Regions from separate parts of the Homo sapiens genome. Here all the other regions are linked to region 1. The links are contacts of gene promoters, found by promoter capture Hi-C in human tissues and cell types (Jung and others, 2019). All regions are on one chromosome and are shown on one strand. Each heading gives the region's core, a stretch centred on a gene start or on the middle of the fragment in contact. The rest is flanking DNA. Distances are from core to core; before and after follow the strand shown. Region 1 holds the start of RFC3 (replication factor C subunit 3). Region 2 overlaps N4BP2L1 (NEDD4 binding protein 2 like 1). Region 3 overlaps NBEA (neurobeachin). Region 4 overlaps NBEA (neurobeachin). Region 5 has its middle 19 kb from the start of NBEA.

Region 1 (3,148 bases), core at 271-2,770:
AGCTATTGACGGAAAATGTAATTTGTCTATAAATGATGGATACTGCAGTAATCAATTTATTTTAAATTAGTATACATGCAGTATCAATAAAGAGACCAAAAAAAAACCTTCAATGTCACAACACTATCAACTAGTCTAATGATTTTTACGTGTACAATCTTTTCTTATTATTTCTTATTTTTAAGACGCACTTAATTAAATAGTATCTGTAAATCTAAGAAAGGTCGGAAGGGAAAACCAGGGTATTGGGCAAAAACGTTTCCATCAGCATCATATATTAATTTGAGTTCCTTAAAAGGAGTGGATAAATGTCTTCCACAGACACTTTATTCTCCTAAAGATCCTTCTTTACTCTCTACTCCCTGGAAGATTCAGTTCGTTCTCACAAAATATTGCCATTGGGCACTTTTATCAACTACAACAGACAAAGAGGCATCAGGATAGAGGGGAGAGGATCTTTCACAAAGCTCTAATCTCAGCCACGCACGGTGGCCCACGCCTGTAATCCCAGCACTTTGGGAGGCCGAGGCAGGCGGATCACCTGAGGTCAGGAGTTCGAGACCAGCCTGGCCAACGTGGTGAAACCCCGTCTCTACTGAAAAATACAAAAATTAGCTGTGCGTGGTGGCGGGCGCCTGTAATCCCAGCTACTCGGGAGGCTGAGGCAGGAGAATCGCTTGAACCCGTGAGGCGGAGGTTGCAGTGAGCCGAGACCGCGCCATTGCATTCCAGCCTGGGCGACAACAGCTAAACTCCGTCTCAAAAAAAAAAAAAAAAAAAAAAAAAACTAATCTCAGGAACGTCCTAATACAATTTATTTGAGAATTAGAAACGATCTTTGGAGTAAATACATATTTACAACACTTTACTTGTAAATGACAATGACATCGAGAAATCTTAAGCCAGCTAGAAAGTAAATCACATGGTGTCATCTCCGCTCAAAATGCTCCAACGGCTTCTCGTCTTATTCTGAGACTGACTGGGTCTGCACTCCAACTCCATCCCAACACATACACCCATCTCCGATTACCCTTCCCGCTGGTTCACCACTATCGGCTACGCCGGCCTCCTGAGGTTCTTAGAACATGCCGTGCACATCCCTGCCCGGGAATTTTGCACTTGCTGTCCCCTCTTACCTGTTCCACTCTTTGCTCGGATTTCTGTATTTATGACTTTTCAATTTCCTTCAAGTCTCGGCTCAGATGCCACTTCTCAGTGGAGCTTTTCTTGTTTAAAAATACAAGCCAGCCTCCCACACCTCTTCCCCCTTCCCTGTGTTATTTTTCTCCATAGCACTTATCACCTTCCAATGCGGGCGGGAGAAGCACTGCTCCTCAGGGGGGCGCGAAACCCCGAGCCGGGGGGCCTCCCCTCTCCCACGCTCCCGGCCCCCGCAGACTCACCAGGTTCCGCAGCTGGGCCGCCTGCTCCTTGTGATAGTCCAGCCGTCCCAAGGAGCAGGGCCGATACTTGTCCACCCAGAGGCTCATGGCAGCTCGAGTTCCCGGGGGCCTACGCTTGAAAATCCCGCGCGAGCGCGCGTCCTCCCCACAACGCAGAGACAAGTTTTCCCGCGAGCTCCAAATCTCGTGACGTCACTACCGGTCGCGGCCGCGTAAATGATTTTGGACGGAAAGGCTACGGGGGCCGTGTGCAGACAAAATCAGCTGCCGCGTCGATGCCCTCTAGTTCTGAAGTTCACTGCTTTATTTATTTTCTCTTTGTTCGCACCGTCTATTATATTCTAGAAATTATCAAGCGGAATTGAAAATGTGGTTCTGACCCTTTTGGCGTCACATCCAGATACCTCAGAGAAGACCGTTCCTTTCATTTATTCATTCTTTCATTCACTTAATTCATTCAACAAAAATTTACTAAATATCTGCTAGGTGTGGAACTCTGTCCTCGGCACTAGAATATATACATCTCAGGGTTTCACTCACTTGGCAGGTACCCAGTAAAGCTTCATTGGATGAATCGCTTGAAAATGTCTGATCTTCACTATCCTTTGTTACCTCTATTCCTCAATATTCTTATTGGATTAGAAACAAAAGAATCAAGAGCATGGAAAAACTACCCAAATGTGGTCTGTAGGGGAGAAGACACGAGGTTAATATGCATTCTAAGTCTAGAATATTTGAAAGCCCTCCAATTAAAATGTGTAGAAGCATCTGAACCCCTCAGAAAAATATTCTGCATATGAAGTTGATATGCAACTTTTGAAGTTCTCTTCAAATAGTGCCTCTCAAAATGCACTTTACTCATTGTACATAATATTAATTCCTTATTTAATTTATGCTTTTATTTTATGTATTATTAAGAACCCTAAGTCCTGCCATTTGATTGCAAGGTCTTACAGGCAGGAAATGATTTCCAAATATACTTAATAACCTTTCACCAAGGTGCCTCTTACTCATTTATTAATCAATAATTTATCATGTTCTTCTATGAATCGTCATATTACATGAATTACTCCTGCAGGTAAGGTATTATCCACACCACCAAGTATAAGATTTAATCCCTGTTCTCGAGAAACTTTCTATAATAAGCCTGGAAGGCTTCTGCCTCAGGGCCTTTGCAATTACTGTTTCCTCTTCCTGGACTATGTTTCTCCAGTCAGCAGAGTTGGGTCCCTCATTTCCTTCAGGATGTTGGCTCAAGTATTATCTCCTCACTGAGGCTTCCCTGACCACCCTATTTAATATTGCAAAAAAGCTTCATCTTCTTTATGCTTCTCTCCTTTGGAATTGAAATGGAGGAAGTGTTTGAAATGAGAAGGTAAAGGAAATCAGAAGCAGGGATACTGAATTGTGGTCTATGTGTATATCATAATCATAATGAATGATAATGGAAATAAGTACTGAGAGGAATAAAGAGAAGAACCAAGTGCTAGAATGATCAATAATTTGGCAAGAGTGACCACAGGCATGACAGACAACTTCAATAAGGAGCAGTGGTTGATGGTCTCTACCGTGAAGACATGTCTCTACCATTGAAGCACATGAAGACATGTGCTTCAATATTGTTGGGGGTTCTGAGGAAGGAGAAATAGTGTGGTGACCCAGGAAGTCCAGTTAAATTTGAATTTCAGAAGCTTTTTCATATGTCTATGGCAAAATTTATTACAAATGATTTTTTTTCTCATATA
Region 2 (3,148 bases), core at 375-2,874, 1.4 Mb after region 1:
GGCACGTGAAGAGTCAATTGAATGAAGGCCATCACTTAAAACCAAGACTTAAGGACTAACTGACAAGCAGCCTAAGGGAAGTCATTTTACTTTTTGTTTTGTTTAGAGAGAGAGTCTCGCTCTGTCTCCCAGGCTGGAGTGCAGTGGCACGATCTCAGCTCACTGCAGCCTCTGCTTCCTAGATTCAAGCAATTCTCGTGTGTCAGCCACCCCAGCAGCTGGGATTACAGGCGTGTACCACCACGCCTGGCTAGTATTTGTATTTTTAGTAGAGACGGGGATTTGCCGTGGTGGCCAGCCTGGTCTCAAACTCCTGAGCTGAAGTGATTCACCCGCCTCGGCCTCCCAAAGTGCTGGGATTACAGGTGTGAGCCACCGCGCCCGGCCTCATTTTACTTTTTATCTTCTGGATATGTATAATCTTTTTCAGCCATCCTCAGCTATTAATTCGACTTAGAAATGAGAGGTTTCCGGTTGTGTTATTTAAATCCTTCCCAGTTGAGAAGCGCCCATCTCAAGAATGAAAAGGAAACCTTTTTGCTTAGCTCTTTCCACTCTATGTTTTATAAACACAATAAATTATAGTGATAATAGAAAATTCAGTTTGAGATAAAGTAGTAGTCAATTTATGAATGCAAAGAATATTTGGATGTTTATAAGGAAATTATAATAGTTTTCTAAACTCAAGGAAATGGGGCCCAGAGCATTGACCCAAATTGTATTGCATAATGGGGAGAGCTACTTTTGGAAGGAAGATGATGTGAAGTATGTGACTATCACTTTTATTTCACCAGTTATGTTCCTATGGTACTCCCACTTTCTAAAGGAAGGCATGAGGAATAGGACAAGGCATCTGACAAGTAAATCTACAAAAATCCCATAAGTGACTTTGAGACGTCACTGAGTTCATTCATACCGGTGTTCAGGACGTTTTAAACTAGCTCAGTCATCTATTTTTAAAGATGTCCAAAACAAAGAACCTTTACAAATTTCCTACATACTAGATAAAATTGAGCAAAATTTATCATGGAGAATTATGAGAGTGGCTAAGTATGGGAATGAAACAACTGCATTTATTGTGATAAATTAAGGCATTGGATTACTGGTAAAACAAAAGGAATTCTGAAAAGATTTGTAGTAAATGTTAAATGGCAGCATAAACATTCCCAAACATACATACTATGTCTTCAATGTTTTATGTACTTTTGAAAAATCAGGCACTTGAAAATAACTATGAAGTTATATTCCGAGAACCTGACACTCGCTGGAAATTCAACGTTCAAGAGTTAGCAAGGTACTTCTTTGTTTTTCTAGTTCCTCATTATGTATCCTGCTATTTTCAGGTATTTCAGACCGAACAAAAGAATCTTTTCAGGCTGGAAATGGACATGGTAGTTTTCAGGCCAGAAATGGTAATTCTTGGAAATTGATAACTTTGGAATTATTAATGTGAAGACTTTAGTTTTGGGTCAGTTTTCTAATATAATGCTAAATGCTAAATCTTGGCTTGGACTTGGTCCTTTAAAAGGATGCATTTAACATTCTGCTAAAATGCTTCTTCATCAAGGAACATTTAAAAGCACTTTATCTGCATGGGACTGCACATGTCAATGGTGTTTTTGCATTTAGGCTAAAGATCTTTAGAGGTTGAGCAGTCTGCGATTCATTTATGATCTAGATGCTGCTTCTAATTTATAAAGCAATAAATGTTCAAATAATACTAACTTGTTGATTGAATGCATGGGTTCAGATATTCTCTGTCTGTATTATTTGATAATGTCATTGACTTAAAATAGCCAGTGAGGTAAGAATTTACTTCTTAGGAGTAAGGCTGGTTCCTCTTATGGTAATAGGCAGATAGTGTCTTCAAAGTGGATCTGTGGACTACTCCATCAGAATTGCCTCAGGTGGCTATTAAAATCCGAGTTCATGGACCCCATTCAGTAGTTGGAATCTCTGGTAATTATATTTCTAACTATATCCCCAGTTGATTCTTCTGCCCACTAGAATTTAAGATTGTTTTAATAAGTATCTCCTAGAAATATATCTCAGGGACTGATTAACATAAGTAGATAGATATATGCATGACATTAACAGGCAAATGTATGATTTTTTAAAAATCTCATGGTGTTCTTTTATGTCTTGAAGCACGTAATTGAGAGGACCAGAAACAAAGCATTTCTGAAGCTTTAGCTCCTTGCTAGCCTCAGGGTGGTTTGGGGGTGTGCAGGGCAGCATGAAAAACATGAGTGGAGGCTGAAAGAGAACTGCTGAACAAGATGTTTGTTATGCTTTTGCCAGAGCTAGGTCCTGAGAACAGGGACTGCAATATCTGCAATACTAGAGGACTTGTAAAATATAAGTAACTCATTGTGGTATCCTGCCTTAACTAAATGCATTTTTTTTCCATGTAGAAGAAACATTCATGGTGTCTCAAGAGAAAAAATCCACCGAATGAAAGAACGGTATGAACACGATGTTACTTTTCACAGTGTGCTTCATGCAGAAAAGCCAAGCAGAATGAACAGAAACCAGGACAGGAATAATGCATTGCCTTCCAACAATGCCAGATACTGGAATTCCTACACAGAGTTTCCAAACCGGAGGGCCCACGGTGGATTTACAAATGAGAGCTCCTATCACAGAAGGGGCGGTTGTCACCATGGATATTAGAGGCCTATCTTACAGCCAGGCAGAATTTTCCTAAGTCAGTTTCTACTTCAGTTTTTGTTATTTTTTGTTGCATTTTAGTCAGAGCTCCAATTCCAGTGTAAATAGCTGAACTCAAAAGTTTCTGAGCAAAGTCATTATATTCACTTTCTTCACCAAAATTTGTTAAAGTGCTTCTATATGCATGGTCTGATGCTGGGAATTCTGCAGATTTGAGTAAACAGTCTCTTTCTCTAGGGTAAGAATTTGAAACCAAAACTTGAGAACACACCCAAGAATATATTTACATAGGTTCATAGATGAAATAAAGTGTTTATATTATATATAAGCTTCAGTACCATTTGCTCTGAAGTGATCTATTTATTTTTTCAGGAAATTCATCTCCATCGGTAAAGTTGGGAAGGTGGAGAGAAGTGGTGGGGGGGCATTGCTACTTATCAAAGTGCCATTGCTACTTTGATAATCTATGTATCTAAAA
Region 3 (3,148 bases), core at 446-2,945, 1.4 Mb before region 1:
GTTGCTTTTTTGGCCCTATATTATTTACAAAATAGATTTTTCTTTTTCAGATAATTAAACACTGGGAAGCAAGGATATTAAAATTTTGAGGAAAAAATACCTACTAGTTTCCCTGAATATATCAAACCCAGTAATTTGAATACAGGAGGTTTGCAAAATCTGAAAAAGTGAAGTGTAAGTTTGAGGTCTGTTAGCCAAAGAAGCAACACAACTATAAGCTTTGTGTGATATCACACACTTAAAACAATTTTTAAAAACATACTAACAGTTAAAAATGTATGAGAAGCACATTGCCCTCTATTTTTTTTTTTTTTTGTCTTTTGTTCAAACTAAGTGGGAATCTCTGGAAATCCTAGGAAGTTAAAACTAAACCAAAACATAGATATATATATATACCAAACACTCAAAAGATAAAAAGCATGCAGATATATAAGATTAAATTTTTAGTTTAAAAGGTAAGTAAAAGGTTAATTGGTGGCTTTAGATAAAAGCATTACTCCAAAGTAAAAGTTACACAGTACATGAAAAATAATAGCTCAATTAAAACATTTTATAAACCATCGATAAATATAGCAATCTATCTAAAGAGATAGTATTGTTAGAGAACTTGGCAACTTGATTTAAGAATTCTAAAATGAGATTATTAAGCTTTTCTGTTAAAAATAAAACCATCATAAATATTTCTCTCTGCCTCACAGTAACAGAACTTTGAAAAAATTGTTATAGTTTTATGATTGTATTTCCTCTTTACATACAGTGTTTGCTCATTATAGAACAGTACTAGAGGATCTCTAGCATTTTAATACTTCATGAGTACACATCTGTTCGGATCACTGAGTATAATCAAAGATATATACTTAATCTGCACAGATGACTGAAGGAAATAGAAAAAGAATCAGTACTTTCCTTATATGTACAGAACATTTATGTAATATTTCATAATCTGATGAAATATGTAATAGTAAAGAAAAAAGGTTTATTTTAATTAAGTCTAAATGTTTCTAAGAATTTGATGTTGCAATTTTTTATTATAAACTTCAAAACACTGAAATTCACCAATGCTCCATCCTAAGGGGTGAGATACACTCGACGTAGAACACAAGTTAACATAACTCAAATTATCCCAGTTGTTCTAGGAAATTATTTCCAAATTTAAAATCCAGGATAAGTATAAGGAAATCATTGTTAGCATGTCTGCAATATAATCAATAAACAACTGGTTAACAAAAGTAAAATCCTACATGAATTCTATTGAGACTGTACAATATTATTAGGAGTGTGATTTAGTTACAAAGAAGCGACCAACTGAGTTTATATCTACTTTTCAACTAAAGATTAAAATGAAAAACACGTTATTGGTAAAGTAAGACCCATGATAGATTCTGTGTTTGAAACCGGTAGCATTCAGGACTTTCATTCTAAAGCCTGTCATCCTGGATCTCATTTTCAACGAATTCAATCTGATGTTAAAAGACATGTCATAACTTGGATTTCAGACATTAGTGCTTCAGAAACATGTTTATATACCTCATAATGTAATTATAGCTACCTTAAGACAGATAAGGCAAATGGTAGCAATACCCTGGAAGTATAATTGAAAAATGCACTGGTCCAGAAGCACTTGTGGGGATGATGTCTCTGAAAAGCTGCTCAAAGCTTCAGAGTTTGAAGTTAAATTTTTGATGTTGTCACTCTCAATCTATTGAATGGCTGACAGACAATCAAACCCGTCTGGCTGGCTGGCAGCTCATTTTGCTGGCAGGTGGCAAACAATTAGACACACCAATTTGTGCCTCCTGATGACATTAAAGCATGAAACTAAGTTGTATGCAGGGCCTAGTGATTTGTGTGAAAGCATTTCAAAAATAATACTCTTTGCCGTGGCAACTCATTTCAAACTGCCACCTCCCATTATGGCTTTGAGTAGTGAAGACGACAGACTTGAGTTACGTGCAGTGCAAGGCCGCTTCTGTTCAATCCGTCATCAGCGCCCCCGAGACCTCAATCCCCTCCTTTCATCAATATCACCTCATCATTTACATTTGATAGTACTTGAGCTATTGCATATATTAACTACACTAGAGACTCTTTTCCTAAAAAGAACTGAAATATGCTTTGTGCTCTTCCATTTCATTTGTACTTATGCAATTTAGAATAATGATTCCACTCCTACTGCATTTTGTACAAATGCTATAGGAACATAAAAAGCTGTATTTTTCTTAAAGCAATATTCTCAAAAGTATAATAAATTTTGAGTAGCTAAGAATATTAGCACTCAGGTGACTGCTTTTTAAAGTTTTAATTAAAAAACTCATTCTAACAATAATCCAAATTAAAACAAAAAATTTTACTTAATGTTTATTTCATTGGATTTTCATATGTAAATCACAATAATCATCTGTATTTATTGGTTTGTATTTTACCAACATTTAAAGATATAATTTAAAATTAACTAGAATACAAAACTTAAATTACTATATATTACCTTATAGGCTTATAGAAATACACAAGTACATATACTTACATGCATATGTTTATACAAACTTATAAACACACATATAGGCATATCGTGAAAACATAAACCAAATATGTGAAAAAGGTGAAATAAATGTGAAACATCATAAGGAACACCCAGGGAACATCACTATATGAATGAACATCCAAACACAATATTAATACCAAAATACCAAAAAAAGAAAAATATTTCTTACATTTTATAGTCCTACCATTTTTTACTTTTTAAAACTTCTGACACCACACATTTTATCTATTATAGCAATTATTTGCAAACATCTTCTTACTACTCTCTAAATTCATAGAAGATAAAACTAATTTTATTCATCTTTATATTCTGCATGATAACCAGTGCCACTTAACATTTTCCACAACAGATTTTCAAGACGTATTTGTAAAACACTGGCAAAAGTGTTTACAGGCAAAGTTTAAATTATATTGTGTATTAAAAGGGTAATTCGGCCAGGTGCGGTGGCGCACGCCTGTAATCCTAGCACTTTGGGAGGCAAAGGCGGGTGGATCATGAGGTCAGAGTTCAAGACCAGCCTGGCCAAGATGTTGAAACCCCGTCTCTACTAAAAATACAAAAATTAGCCAGGCGTGGTGGCAGGTGCTACTCAGGAGGCTGAGGAGA
Region 4 (3,148 bases), core at 362-2,861, 1.2 Mb before region 1:
GTACCTAGCTCATTTCACTTAACATAATGACCTCCATTCCATCCATGTTGCTACAAATGACAGGATTCCACTTGTTTTTATAGCCGAATAGTATTCCATTGTGCACATATACCATATTTTCTTTATCCATTCATCTGCTGATGGACACTTAGGTTGATTCCACCTTTTGAGTACTGTGAATAGCGCTGCAATAAACATGGGAGTGCAAGTATCTCTTTCATATGTTGATTTTCTTTCATTTGGATATATCCTATGTAGTGGGACTGCTGGATCATATGGTAGTTCTATTTTCAGTTATTTGAGAAACTTCCATACTGTTGTCCATAATGGTTGTATTAATGTACATTCCTACCAACCATGTATAAGAGTTCCCTTTTCTCTGTATCCTACCCAGCATTTGTTTCTTCCTTCAGTTACCCTAGTTATTATTTTTAATAGAAGTTTGAAAAGATTTAAGAACTACGCCACAAATCAGACACATTGACAAGCACCTATAGTCCCAACTACTCAGGAGGCTGAGATGAGAGGATCACCTGAGTCCAGGAGTTCAAGTTCAACCTCAGAAACATACTAAGACCTCCTCTCTTAACAACAACAACAACAACAAAAAAAAACCAACTATGTTATCATTGCTGCCAAGTGTTTCTCAAGGCTTTTTCTTTTTTGAAATTCAAAATTACACTAAAAAACAAAAACAAAAAAGGAAAGTAAAAAAACAAATTTAATTGCTATTGATATTTTTGGTATATCTGCTTAAACTTCTTTAGGTTTTTAAAAAAACAATAATATGTGATGGCATTTTTAATGTAAAAGCATTTATCTATAAAGATAAAGCAAAATTTTCCACTTGACCTTCACACCTCCCCATCTCAACCCCTTCCCCTCTATTTCCTAAAGGATACAGCTATTAAATGCTTGCTCGATCAGTATCCCTGCATTTGTGTATGCTTTTAAAACGTGTGTGTGTGTGTGTGTGTTATATATATTATAAATATATAATCTATATAACATATATAGAGTGAATGTGTGTGTATCTCTTATAATCCATGTAAAATGTTAACAAAGTATCTGGCACATATAAATGCTTAGTAAATTGTAGGTGGTATTATTATAGCAGTTTACATGTAGATTTATTCTTTTCCTAACCAAGTTTAACATTAGCAAGCAAGCATATCTATCTTCTCCGAAACAGGACCAGAACCATAGCTTACTATTTTACTGTCCTCTATACTTCCTCTCCCAATTCCCATGTAAATTTTTCAACTATATTTGAATTTAACAGCATGTTTTACTGCTTTCTTTGTGCATCATTACATCCTGTATCCCATTATTTTCTCCTGGTTCATTGCCCTTCTTGCTAGAGTATATCCATTAATAATTCTTTCAGCAATGATCTATGAAAAAGTTTCTGAGTCCCTGTATGCCTGAAATTGTCCTTATGTCTATCTTATTCTAAAATGTTAATGTCTGGATAGGACATTACTAAATTCAAAATTATCTTCCCCTGACCCTTAAAGATATTACTGTACCCAATTTTGCTGCAGATAATCTGTTGATAATCTAAATACATATAAAGGTATGTAGACAGACAGAAGGAAGATAGATACAGACATACCGACGGATGATGGGCATCACAGTTTAGTTTCCATTGTTCTGATTACCAGTGAATGTAAGTACTGTATACTGGTTAAGAGTCTGGGCTTTGAAATAGAATGCCTGTGTTAAAATCCAGACACTGTACTTACTGGATATATAACCTTATCAAGTTACCTAAACATATAACTGTGTTCAGTCCCACATCTGTTAAGTGTGGATAATAATAGTGTCTACCTCATAAGGTTGTTGTTGTTAAAGGGAGATACTCAAACAAATGAATTCAAACCCATAAGGCTGAGTCAAAAAAAGAAAAAAAATCACAGAAAAATTCACACACAGGCTTCCACTTTTATAAAGCTTATTTTTTTAAAAAAAATCACTAATGACAGTAAGCATAAGAACAATCATGGCAAAGCAGGTATTACACAGATTTCAAAGTGAGAACACTCTGCTGAAAGAAGGTGATTTTTAAAAAAGTGGTCTAGAAGCAAAATACCTGGAGAATGTCAAGCTCTTCACTCATCATAAGGTACAGAGGACTTGTGAGAACAAAAAGCACTTAGATTTCAGGTAAGGGGGTAAAGAGAGTATTGGGGGAGAGCTGTGAGAAAACAAAATTTTTTTATTGAAAAGGAGCCAAAGGATAAATGTTTGAGGTGATGGATACCCTATTTACCCTGATGTGATTACTACACACTGTACACCTGTATCAAAATATCTAAAGTACTCCACACATATATTCCCCATATTATATACCCACAAAAATTTTTAAAAATATATTTATTGACTGACCAAACAATAGAACAAAAGAAGGATTCTTACCCCAATTTTGTTTGTTATAAATATTTATAGTATGTCTCTATTTCTACCATAAGGATATAAGCTTGGTTAGTTGTTGAGGGAAGTCAGGGACCCCAAACGGAGGGACCAGCTGAAGCCATGGCAGAAGAACATAAATTGTGAAGATTTCATGGACACTTAGTAGTTCCCCAAATTAATATTTTTATAATTTCTTACGCCTGTCTTTACTGCAATCTCTGAACATAAATTGTGAAGATTTCATGGACACTTATCACTTCCCCAATCAATACCCTTGTGATTTCCTATGCCTGTCTTTAATCTCTTAATCCCGTCATCTTCGTAAGCTGAGGAGGATGTATGTCGCCTCAGGACCCTGTGATGATTGCGTTAACTGCACAAATTGTACAGCATGTGTGTTTGAACAATATGAAATCTGAGCATCTTGAAAAAAAGAACAGGATAACAGCAATGTTCAGGGAAAAAAGAGAGATAACCTTAAACTCTGACTGCCGGTGAGCTGGGCAGAACAGAGCCATATTTCTCTTCTTTCAAAAGCAAATGGGAGAAATATCACTGAATTCTTTTTCTCAGCAAGGAACATCCCTGAGAAAGAGAATGCGTCCCTGAGGGGAGGCCTCTAAAATGGCCGCTTTGGGGGCAGCTGTCTCTTACGGTCTTAGCTGTGGGATGAAATAAGCCCCCGTCTCCTGCAGCACTCCCAGGCTTATTAGGATGAGGAAATTCCCACCTA
Region 5 (3,148 bases), core at 281-2,780, 1.1 Mb before region 1:
AGATATTTTAAAATGTTGAACTAGAATTAATTATATAAAACACACACATACACATAAATAGCACTTAAATCCTTCAATGATGTTTCAATTATATAAAATATAATATAGGAGGCACTTTATGTTCTGGCCTCAATCTTTCAATTCAAACTTGTCTCCTGCCACTCTCTCCTTTGAACATTGTATTCCAGCTACTTTAGAATAATAATAATATATAATATTCATGGAGCCCTTCCTGGGTTCCTATCACTGGACAAAATGCTTCACATATATTATATCATTTACTCTTTGACAACTTTATTAGGTAGGTACTATTACTATCTATATTTTATAGATAAGAAAAAAGAGGGTAAAAACTTGCCAAAGTTACAAAGCTTAGAAGTGTACCAGTTGGGATTTGAATCTAGGCATCCTGCCTCTGCAATCCACAGTGGCTTTCTTGTGCCAAAAGGCTTGCAGTTCCCCAGACTTGACTTTCTCAAAATCTGTCTTTCACATGCTCTTCCAACTGTCTGGAAAATCTTTCACAACCTCGTTCTACCTGTGGTACTCCTGTTCACCCCACAAGACTTGACTCCATCTGTCCCCCCTCCATGAAAGTTTCTCTGAATCTCAGCACTTTGGGAGGCTGAGGCAGGTGAATCGCCTGAGGTCAGAAGTTTGAGACCACCCTGGGCAACATGGTGAAACCCCGTCTTTACTAAAATACAAAAAACTAGCCAGGCATGGTGGCGCACCCCTGTAATTCCAGCTGCTCAGGAGGCTGAGGCTGGAGAATTACTTGATCCTGGGAGGCAGAGGTTGCAGTGAGCCAAGATCACACCACTGCACTCCACCTTGGCTTACAGAGTGAGACTCCATCAAATAAAAAAGAAAGAAAGGAAGAAAAGAAAGGAAGGAAGGAAGGAAGGAAGAAAAAAAGGAAAAGGAAAGGAAGGAAGGAAGGGAAAGAAAGGAAAGAAGAGAAAAAGAAAAAAAGAGAGACAGAAAGTAAGAAAAAGAAAAAAGAAAGAGAAAAAGGAAAGAAAGAAAGAAGGAAGGAAAGGGAAAGAAAGAAGGAAAGAAAGAAAAAGAAAGAAAGAAAAGAAAGAAAGAAAAAGAAAGAAAGAAAGAGAAAGAAAAGAAAAGAAAAGAAAAGAAAGAAAGAAAGAAAGAAAGAAAGAAAGAAAGAAAGAAAGAAAGAAAGAAAGAGAAAGAAAGAAAGAAAGAAAAAGTTTCTCTGACTCCCTGGTCAGGGCTCATGCCTTGGCACTGAGGGCGTCTTGCAAAACTGAAGGAGGCCACTTGGTGTAGCAGACAGAAAATAATTGTGATATGAGATAGGCCTGAATTGGATTTATGGCTCTATTGCATATTGGTTTTGTGATTTTGGGAAAGTCATTTAATCTCTCTGAATTTTAGTTTCTTTAGGGATTAATAGTACCATTTCCAGGGAGCTGTTATTAGGATAAGAAAACAACCAGAACACAGCAAGAATTCATTAGTGCCCTCACCGCCCTTCCTCCGTTGCAGCCCTCAGTACCTGAATGGCAATCATGCATCTTCTCACTGGCCTGTGGATTGCTTCCCCTTTCATCTTTGGCTCTGCAGTATTCAGTGTCACTAGTAAAATGTGTGAAATGAATGAATCGACAGCTGATGCTTAGTACCTAATGACACAAGTGAATGAATCTTTTTGTTCATTTTGTGGCCAGAAAGATAGTGTAATTAAGTAATAACAACGGAAGAAAGAGAAACTCCAGCTATACTTTGTCCTTTTCTCAAGTAGCATCTAAAACTTTTTCCTTCTTTTAAAACATTATCACTGAAGGATCTCTTTGAATGTGTCTTGAATTTTACATAAGCAGATGATCACAACTCAACATAATATTAGAAGATTATATTATTTTAAAAATTGGTTCATAGTTTTATAGTCTTGGAATATCTATCTATCTAGGTATCTATCTATCTATCTACCTACCTACCTACCTACAAAATATATTTAGGCTGCTTTCCTGAGGCTATTTTGTTATTCCATTATTTCATTTTTTTCAAGATCCTGATATTCCCTGGTGTATCAGGTCTAGGTATTTATGATTAGGAGAAGAAATGATTCAGTGGCAGCTCTCCAGGATTTTGAATTATGAGATATGAAACCAGAAATTGCAACTTACATGGATTGGTTGGAACACTGTGTATTACTGTTTCTGTGTCAACTTCTCTTCTCCCTTGTTTATATGTGTTTAATATGCATTTCAGCACTATGTATTTGTGAACATTTGAACCCAAACCATAGAACAATTGAAGATGTCATAGTTGGAAAGGCATAAAAGGTCATTCTAAGTGTGTGAACAAGTTAGAGAACTACAAAATTAGAGATCATTATAGCTAGATTCCAGAGAGAGACTTCATTGCTTTTCAAAGAAATTAAGCCATAGATAATCATGACAGGTTGAAATAGGTCAGGATTTCTAAAAATAGTGTCATGTAAATTACCTATGTAAACACATTAAAATATAAATTATTTGAAAAATGAATAGTAGGTCCTCAGAATAACCCTACATATAAGTATATAATAAAAGTATGAGTTCAAGAGCAGAATGTTAAATGAAGCTGCCTGTCTTGGTTTCTTTACTAAGATTCTTCTATTCTGCTTTCTGAAACTGTTACGTTCCCATTATAAACTTTGTACCAAGTTAAAAGTAAGGCCCCTTTTCCCCCTTTATTCTGTCTTCCTGGCTCTCCAGTCCTAGGAAGTTAAAAAGACTCAGAAAATCCCATCTTTACTTCTATGAAGTTTGGGAGAAGAGTCAAGATAGGCTATAAAGTGTTGCACTTCATAATCCAAGCATCCTTCTACTGATAGTAGAGTTTCATTATCCTTCCTCAGATATATGCAATGACAAAAATAGGTAATGAGAAAGTGTGCACCCAAGTAACTCTTTGAGTATATAAGGGCTGATTAAGTTGAAAGAAGAATTGCCGCCAGACGCAGTGGCTCACGCCTGAAATCCCAGCACTTTGGGAGGCCGAAGCAGGCGGATCACTTGAGGTCAGGATTTCAAGACCAGCCTCGCCAACATGGCGAAACCCCGTCTCTACTAAAATTATAAAAGGTATCCGGGCGTGGTAGTGCACGCCTGTAATCCCAGCTACTCAGGAGACTGAGGCT

What was found. Contacts are between HindIII fragments. The study calls those that stand out against the background at their distance.
Region 2: a contact is called between a fragment that was not itself captured here and the fragment with the promoter of RFC3 in region 1, in 1 of the 25 tissues and cell types used here (lymphoblastoid cells).
Region 3: a contact is called between a fragment that was not itself captured here and the fragment with the promoter of RFC3 in region 1, in 1 of the 25 tissues and cell types used here (dorsolateral prefrontal cortex).
Region 4: a contact is called between a fragment that was not itself captured here and the fragment with the promoter of RFC3 in region 1, in 1 of the 25 tissues and cell types used here (dorsolateral prefrontal cortex).
Region 5: a contact is called between a fragment that was not itself captured here and the fragment with the promoter of RFC3 in region 1, in 1 of the 25 tissues and cell types used here (dorsolateral prefrontal cortex).

What each region holds. Positions count from the first base shown.
Region 1 is chr13:33,816,521-33,819,668 of GRCh38, reverse strand. RFC3 (replication factor C subunit 3) reads right to left here and starts at 1,520. Exons shown (of 9, transcript NM_002915.4): 1 at 1,404-1,520. The coding sequence starts at 1,490. The HindIII fragment of the contact is 5,146 bases long and covers 1-2,339 here.
Region 2 is chr13:32,402,467-32,405,614 of GRCh38, reverse strand. N4BP2L1 (NEDD4 binding protein 2 like 1) reads left to right here. Exons shown (of 5, transcript NM_052818.3): 4 at 1,218-1,294; 5 at 2,415-3,148. The coding sequence ends at 2,673. Among named protein-coding and RNA genes, the nearest start is that of N4BP2L1, 24 kb to the left of the region's middle. The HindIII fragment of the contact is 4,723 bases long and covers 1-3,148 here.
Region 3 is chr13:35,197,626-35,200,773 of GRCh38, reverse strand. The region is part of intron 31 of NBEA (neurobeachin); the gene reads right to left. Among named protein-coding and RNA genes, the nearest start is that of NBEA, 260 kb to the right of the region's middle. RefSeq lists an enhancer at 491-2,639. The HindIII fragment of the contact is 3,208 bases long and covers 92-3,148 here.
Region 4 is chr13:34,998,423-35,001,570 of GRCh38, reverse strand. All of the region lies in intron 1 of NBEA (neurobeachin), which reads right to left. Among named protein-coding and RNA genes, the nearest start is that of NBEA, 58 kb to the right of the region's middle. The HindIII fragment of the contact is 4,629 bases long and covers 1-3,148 here.
Region 5 is chr13:34,922,112-34,925,259 of GRCh38, reverse strand. No RefSeq gene overlaps it. Among named protein-coding and RNA genes, the nearest start is that of NBEA, 19 kb to the left of the region's middle. The HindIII fragment of the contact is 3,686 bases long and covers 1-3,148 here.